2 separate regions of the Homo sapiens genome follow, and region 2 is linked to region 1. The links are contacts of gene promoters, found by promoter capture Hi-C in human tissues and cell types (Jung and others, 2019). All regions are on one chromosome and are shown on one strand. Each heading gives the region's core, a stretch centred on a gene start or on the middle of the fragment in contact. The rest is flanking DNA. Distances are from core to core; before and after follow the strand shown.

Evidence for each region. The method cuts DNA at HindIII sites, captures the fragments that hold promoters and counts their contacts. A contact is called where the count stands out against the background at its distance.
Region 2: a fragment that was not itself captured here is called in contact with the fragment with the promoter of HYOU1 in region 1 in 1 of the 25 tissues and cell types used here (small bowel).

Annotation. Positions count from the first base shown.
Region 1 is chr11:119,055,539-119,058,717 of GRCh38, forward strand. HYOU1 (hypoxia up-regulated 1) reads right to left here and starts at 1,667. Exons shown (of 26, transcript NM_006389.5): 1 at 1,482-1,667; 2 at 532-629; 3 at 212-305; 4 at 1-33. The coding sequence starts at 622. RefSeq lists enhancers at 765-1,265, 1,266-1,765, 2,125-2,174 and silencers at 1,245-1,524, 1,615-1,894. The HindIII fragment of the contact is 15,957 bases long and covers 1-3,179 here.
Region 2 is chr11:118,802,579-118,805,757 of GRCh38, forward strand. No RefSeq gene overlaps it. Among named protein-coding and RNA genes, the nearest start is that of DDX6, 13 kb to the left of the region's middle. The HindIII fragment of the contact is 7,533 bases long and covers 1-3,179 here.

The DNA of each region.
Region 1 (3,179 bases), core at 417-2,916:
GTCACGATCACCGGTGTTTTCCTCCGAGATTCCCTGAGGAAAAGAGATTTTGGGCCCAGGTGCCTGCAGCAGAAGGACTCAGAAGCCTCGACACTCACACACATTTAACCACTCAGATGCCGAAGTCTGCTGTGGGCACTATGACTAACACATTCACACTTGGAGCCCAGACTCCCTCGTTCCCCACCCTTAACACGGGGGCCACCCTCACTTATTCAAGACAATTTCCATGGGCACTCCAGGTTTGACAATGGCCACCTTCATGGACTCACTGCCCAGGTCCACAGACATCACTGCCAGTGTATCTGAAGGGAAAAGAGGTTTGTCAGTTAGCTCTCCCTTCGCCCACCTTCCTGGGACTCCCTCTAATCAAAGCATACCACTTTCCATGGGTAAACGAAGATGGCAAAAGACAAAAAGGCCTGGACCTAACAACTCAAGAGACTTCTGGCCAACAGCCCCAAGCTCAATTCCCATCATGCATCCTTCAGTCATCATTTATCCATTTGCTCCCTCTACTGGGGTACATACCACTCAGTGCCAACAGGTCTGCCAAGAGCACAGCCACCAAGGCCCAACAGACTCGCCTCCTCGGCCTCTGCCTCCTAACTTTGTCTGCCATAGTGCCCCTGGGGGAGGCGAAGAAAGAAAACACTTAAAACTGGATACCCGGAGTGAAGGAGACAGAATCACATCCCAGAACGGAGAGGCTGTAAGATTCATATCTACTTCATTCTTACCCAGGGCAGATCAGCCTACTTCTCCCCTTCTCCCTCCTGATGGGTACAAACCATTCTCTAATCATCCCAGCAGCGCCCACACAAAGGCCCAAGTGAAAGAGCATGGGTCCTCGGCTTTGCCACATCCCTAAACAGAGAAGCTAACAGGACAAGAGAAAGGAGACCCGAGCCTTTTGTCCACCACACAGGCAGTGAGTGGCGCACCGCAGCACTGTGCCTGTTGTCAGACACCTGGGGTGCGGCCAGGGATCCCCGCCCAGGGCTCAACCACCTCCCCACACCTGGAGCTCCCCCGCTGACGGGGAAAGCCAGCTGGGCCTGGACGGGAAGAGAAAGGTAATGACGTTGGGGGTAGCTAGGATGAAGGAAAGGCCTATCTCCTCCTCGGCATCCCTGCGGGTTGTCCCGCCCCCTCCCCTTTCCCAGCTCACTCCCCGGCCCCGCTGTGCCCACAGACGCAGTGCCAGGGGCGGTAAGGTTCCCCGCCCGGCGGGTAGCCGTTACCCGGTGTTCACCTAAACCCCACCTGACGAAGGCGGCGGCTCCCACTCCCGGAAACGGATCCCGGCCCGCCCCAGCAAGTGGGGACAGACCGGGGGCCGAGCTGCGTGCCCCCCGGTGCGAGGCCGAGCGCCCGGCGTCCGCGCGGCCCTCCCTTGCGCTCCCGACCCGCCCCCGGAGCTCGCACGCTGTCTCCCCTAGGAGGGGTGGCCGGCCCGCACCTCCATCCACCCCCGCTACCTCTTGCCTCCGCTCCTGCGGCCCCAGCTCTGGGACAGACGCGGCACGAACGTACCCACGAGGCCGGCAGCGCCCCCCACCCGCGCCCTTCACAACTCCTCTCGGTTTGCAAACTGTTACATTAGCCACCAACCTCTCGGCGGCGTCTCGCGCACCAGCCGGCCCCGGACGCGGCGCGCGCTCATTGGAGCCTCGGCCGCCCGGCCCTGCGCTGCGCGCCCGGCCCCGCCCCCGCCGCCCCGGCGCGCGTACTCATTGGACCACGTCCCAGGCCCCGCCCCCTCCCTTTGCCAGCCTTGTAATGGGGCGGCGGAGGGGACCAGCCACCGGTTGGGCAGAAGCAGCCGGCGTCGGCCTGGGATTGGACCACGTCACGGGGCCAGCGCGCTCCACTCCTTCCTCCCCAGCGCCGGCCCCGGGGCGACCGCGGGACCTTTTCCGGCGCTGGATGCTTTGCTGCCGGGGTTCGGGAGTGACCTGCGCCTAGAGCAGGTCGGGCGCACTGCAGTCCCGCACTCGGGGCTCTTCTTCCGGTCACCTGTAGAGCCCGGCCGAGGAATGGAATAACAGGCGTCCTGTCCGCAGCCCCGCGGAGGGGGCGCTGGCCTGCCGGTTAGTATTGAGGTGCCCTAGGCTTTGGATAGACGTTGGAGAATGGCTGTCCCTCGGACTGAGTCCGTCGCAACCCCCTCTGTTTTACTGAGGAAACTGAAGCCACAGAAAAAGATGTTTGCTGATGGGTCAGAGATAACCGATGCATTCGTCGCAGAATCTGGCCAGGATTTCTTAGGTTAAGCCCCACTCATTTGTATAAGAAAGAATATTCCAAACTTAAGTACTACACACAAAAGACACTTTTATTTGTGAGGCTATAGTTGGTTGAGCTTGTGTGCACCTTCTCCTATTTCTGTTCTATTAAATCTTGTGAACATTTCTCTACTCTTTAGCTGTTTCTGTCATAGAATGACAGAAGCACCTCACTGCCTTCTCTTTTAACTTACAGCTCCATAGAAATGTGCGCAGTCGCCCGGGCGCGGTGGCTCACGCCTGTAATCCCAGCATTTTGGGAGGCCAAGGCGGGCGAATCACTGGAGGTCAGGAGTTCGAGACCAGCCTGGCCAACATGGTGAAACCCCGTCTCTACCAAAACTACAAAAATTAGCCAGGCGTGGTGGCGGGTGCCTGTAATCCCAGCTACTCACGAGGCTGAGGCAGGAGAATTGCTTGAATCCGGGAGGCAGAGGTTGCTGTGAGCCCAGACTGCGCCACTGCACTCCAGCCTGGGCGACAACAGCGAGACTCCTTCTCGAAAAAGAAATGTACGCAGTCCTTGGAGACTGCATTTTCCTTAAGTGTGGATGGAAATAAGTCATCTGTTTTCTCTCCTACTAAGTTGATGCCTGGCCACCCTTCACAGAAAGGCCCGCTTGAAGACCCTGGCTGTCAGGGCCAGGGTTGTGTCAAGCCTGAACTTGTTTAAGGAGCTCTTAGCTCTTCCTTTCTCTACATTTTTCGTGATGCTTAGGTGGAGAGTGGTCCGGTGTCTATGCTTAGAAGGAAAAATTATTGGCAGTCCCAGAGAGAGTCTATTCTTCCTTTTTTTTTTTTTTTTTTTTTTATTGATCATTCTTGGGTGTTTCTGGCAGAGGGGGATTTGGCAGGGTCATAGGACAATAGTGGAGGGAAGGTCAGCAGATA
Region 2 (3,179 bases), core at 224-2,723, 250 kb before region 1:
AGAGTAGCTGGGATTACAAGTGTGCACCACCACACCTGGCTAATTTTTGTATTTTTTAGTAGAGACAGGGTTTCACCATGTTGGCCAGGCTGGTCTTGAACTCCCGACCTCAAGTGATCCGCCTGCCTCGGCCTCCCAAAATGCTGGGATTATGGGCGTGAGCCACCACTCCTGGCCTTAAATGATAAATATTAATAGTTTACATAAAATGCTCAGCATAGGGACTGGCTCATTACAAGCCCCAATCAGCAATAGCTGTTTTTATAATAGGCAGTCTGAGCCACTACAAAACCTGGATGTGAAAGGTGAAGCTAGCTAAGATCATTAAGTTCTCAAATTTTAAGTTAAATCTTGTTTCTAATGCCAAGGACAAACTATAATTCTTTACTTGTTCGATTGATTCTTTTGTTCATTCACTTATTATTCATTCATTTATTCCATACCAGGTACACAATAAATGCTTATTAAATGCTATTGAGTGAATAATAGTAAGTAACTTGGGGGAAAATAGAGCTTTTTTTTTTTTTTTTTTTTTTTTTAAGACAGTCTCCCTCTGTTGCCCAGGCTGGAGTGAAGTGGTGAGATCTTGGCTCACTGCAACCTCCACCTCCTGGGTTCAAGTGATTCCCCTGCCTCTGCCTCCTGAGTAGCTGGGATTATAGGCTTGCACCACCACGCCCGGCTAATTTTTGTATTTTTAGTATAGATGGGGTTTCACCATGTTGGTCAGGCTGGTCTCCAACTCCTGACCTCGTGATCTGCCCGCCTCGGCCTCCCAAAGGGCTGGGATTACAGGCATGAGCCACCGCTCCTGTCCAAGAGCTTTTTAAGGATATGCCCTCAGTGATATCTGTCAATGAGTGTAAAATACCCCGTGACCAGGACCAGGACACCATGCTGGATGCTGAAGGTTCAAATCCAGCTGTGTCACCTATTGGGAACCCAGCCAGGGATGTGCAGCATTCATTCCTTCAAGCTATCTAACCTATTACCTACTCAAGGCAGATGACTGCCTCATATTTAATGGAAAAATCAAGGTCATAGTGCTGAATGTTCCTCAATTTCCCTTCTCCTCTAGACCCGTCTTCCACTGAATCTGGTCTTAACCTCATTCCCTGATATCTCTTCCCTCCAGTACCCAAGAGCAGAGTTAATCACTTCCCAGTCATCTGTGCCACCATCGTGCAAATTTCTATTACTGCAAAGTAGCAGAGTTGATTTGGTTGTAGGTTTGCCTTCCACAAGAACTGAGTCTGTCTATGTCTTATTCTTCTTTGTGTGTCCAGCACCTCACATATGGCCTGGCATTTAGTAGGTGCTCAGTAAATGCTTACTGAAGGGGCTTTTGAGTTTTTGTTTTGTTTCATTTTTGAGACAGGGCCTCACTGTGGCTCAAGCTGGAGTGTAGTGGTGCGATCTTGGCTCGCTGCAGCTTCTGCCTACCAGGTTGAAGCGATTCTTGTGCCTCAGCCTCCTGAGTAACTGGGACTACAGGCCCTCACCAACAGGCCCAGCTAATTTTTGTATTTTTTGGTAGAGGCGGGGTTTCACCATATTGGCCAGGTTGATCTCCAACTCCTGACCTCAAATGATCCACCCTGCTCAGCCTCCCAAAGTGCTGGGATTACAGGCATGAGTCGCCGCACCTGGCTAGAAAGAGCTTTTGAATCAACTACTTCCCTTTAGTCTCCTCTTCAAAAATAAACTTTCCAAAAGACCTACACACTACCTCAATTTCCACTTCCTTATCCTAGATCTCTGTACATCTAATCTATCACCAAGCCCTATGAATTCAACCTCTAAAATATTTTCTGAATATGTCCACTCCTTGTTGCCCCATTGCCTCCACCTTCATCCAGACAGATATCTTTCATTGGCCTGTTTACTGCTGTAGTCTCCTAACTAGGGCTCCCTATTTATTCTCGTGTTAGCCCCCATCTATTCTGCGCACAGCCTTAGTGATTATTTTAATGTAAATGAAAGTATCATTACTCTGCATTTTCAGTTGCTTCCCAATGAGCTGAGGATACACTCCACATTCCCTGCTCTGGTCTACAAGGACCTACACAATCTGAATTCTACCAATCCCTCCCTCTTCAACTCATGCCATGCCCTAGTTGCTCATTCGGCTCCAGCCATGCTGGCCCTTAGAGGTTCGGATCAGCTCAACTCTTTCCCACTTCACAACCTTTGAATTTACTGTTTCCTCTATCTGGAGCACTCCTCCCCTCTCCTCACACAGCTGCTGCTTCTTATTCTTTTTTTTTTTTTTTTTTTTTTTAGATGGAGTTTCACTCGCCCAGGCTAGAATGCAGTGGCACGATCTCGGCTCACTGCAACCTCCGCCTCCTGGGTTCAAACAATTCTCCAGCCTCAACCTCCCGAGTAGCTGGGATTACAGGCACCCGCCACCATGCCCGACTAATTTTTGTATTTTTAGTAGAGACAGGGTTTCACCATGTTGGCCAGGCTGGTCTCGAACTCCTGACCTCAGGTGATCCGCCCGCCTCAGCCTCCCAAAGTGCTGGGATTACAGGCGTGAGCCACCGTGCCTGGCCAGAACTGGCTTCTTAAAACAAATTTATCAGCCAATTTATCCAAACTTCATGGATTGGCACACAAGATGTCTTCTTCCAATCCTAATTCCTTCCTCCCTGTCTCTCTTGGCACCCTCTTTCCCCTCCCTCTTTCATGCCTCACCTTTACAGAAATTCAGTTCAGTTTAATAACTATTAACTGGACATCCACTGTGTTCCAGGCACTGTACTTGACTATGGGGGAGAAAATATGAATGAAAACAGATAGCTGACTTCAAGGAATTTATATTCTATTAGTAGCAAAGGTAGATAGACATATGAACAAATATAACACAATGTTCCATTCCATAATGAAGATATATACTAAGGCTAGAAGAAGTACTGAGGAAAAAGTAATTAATTCTGCAAGGGTACAATGGCATGATGCTTCAGAGAAGGTTTCAAGATGAAATTCTGAGGATTTTGAAAGTTGGGTAGGAAATGGTCAGGTGGATCAAGGACGGAAAAACATTACTGGCCGAGTCAACAACAGGTTGACTAGGATCTGGAGTGAAGTCCCGCAAGTAGCTTTAGTGTGTATGTGTGTGTTGGGGAGAGAAGTGGTGATACCTGAGGCTGGAGAGGCATCAGGAGTCACTATAT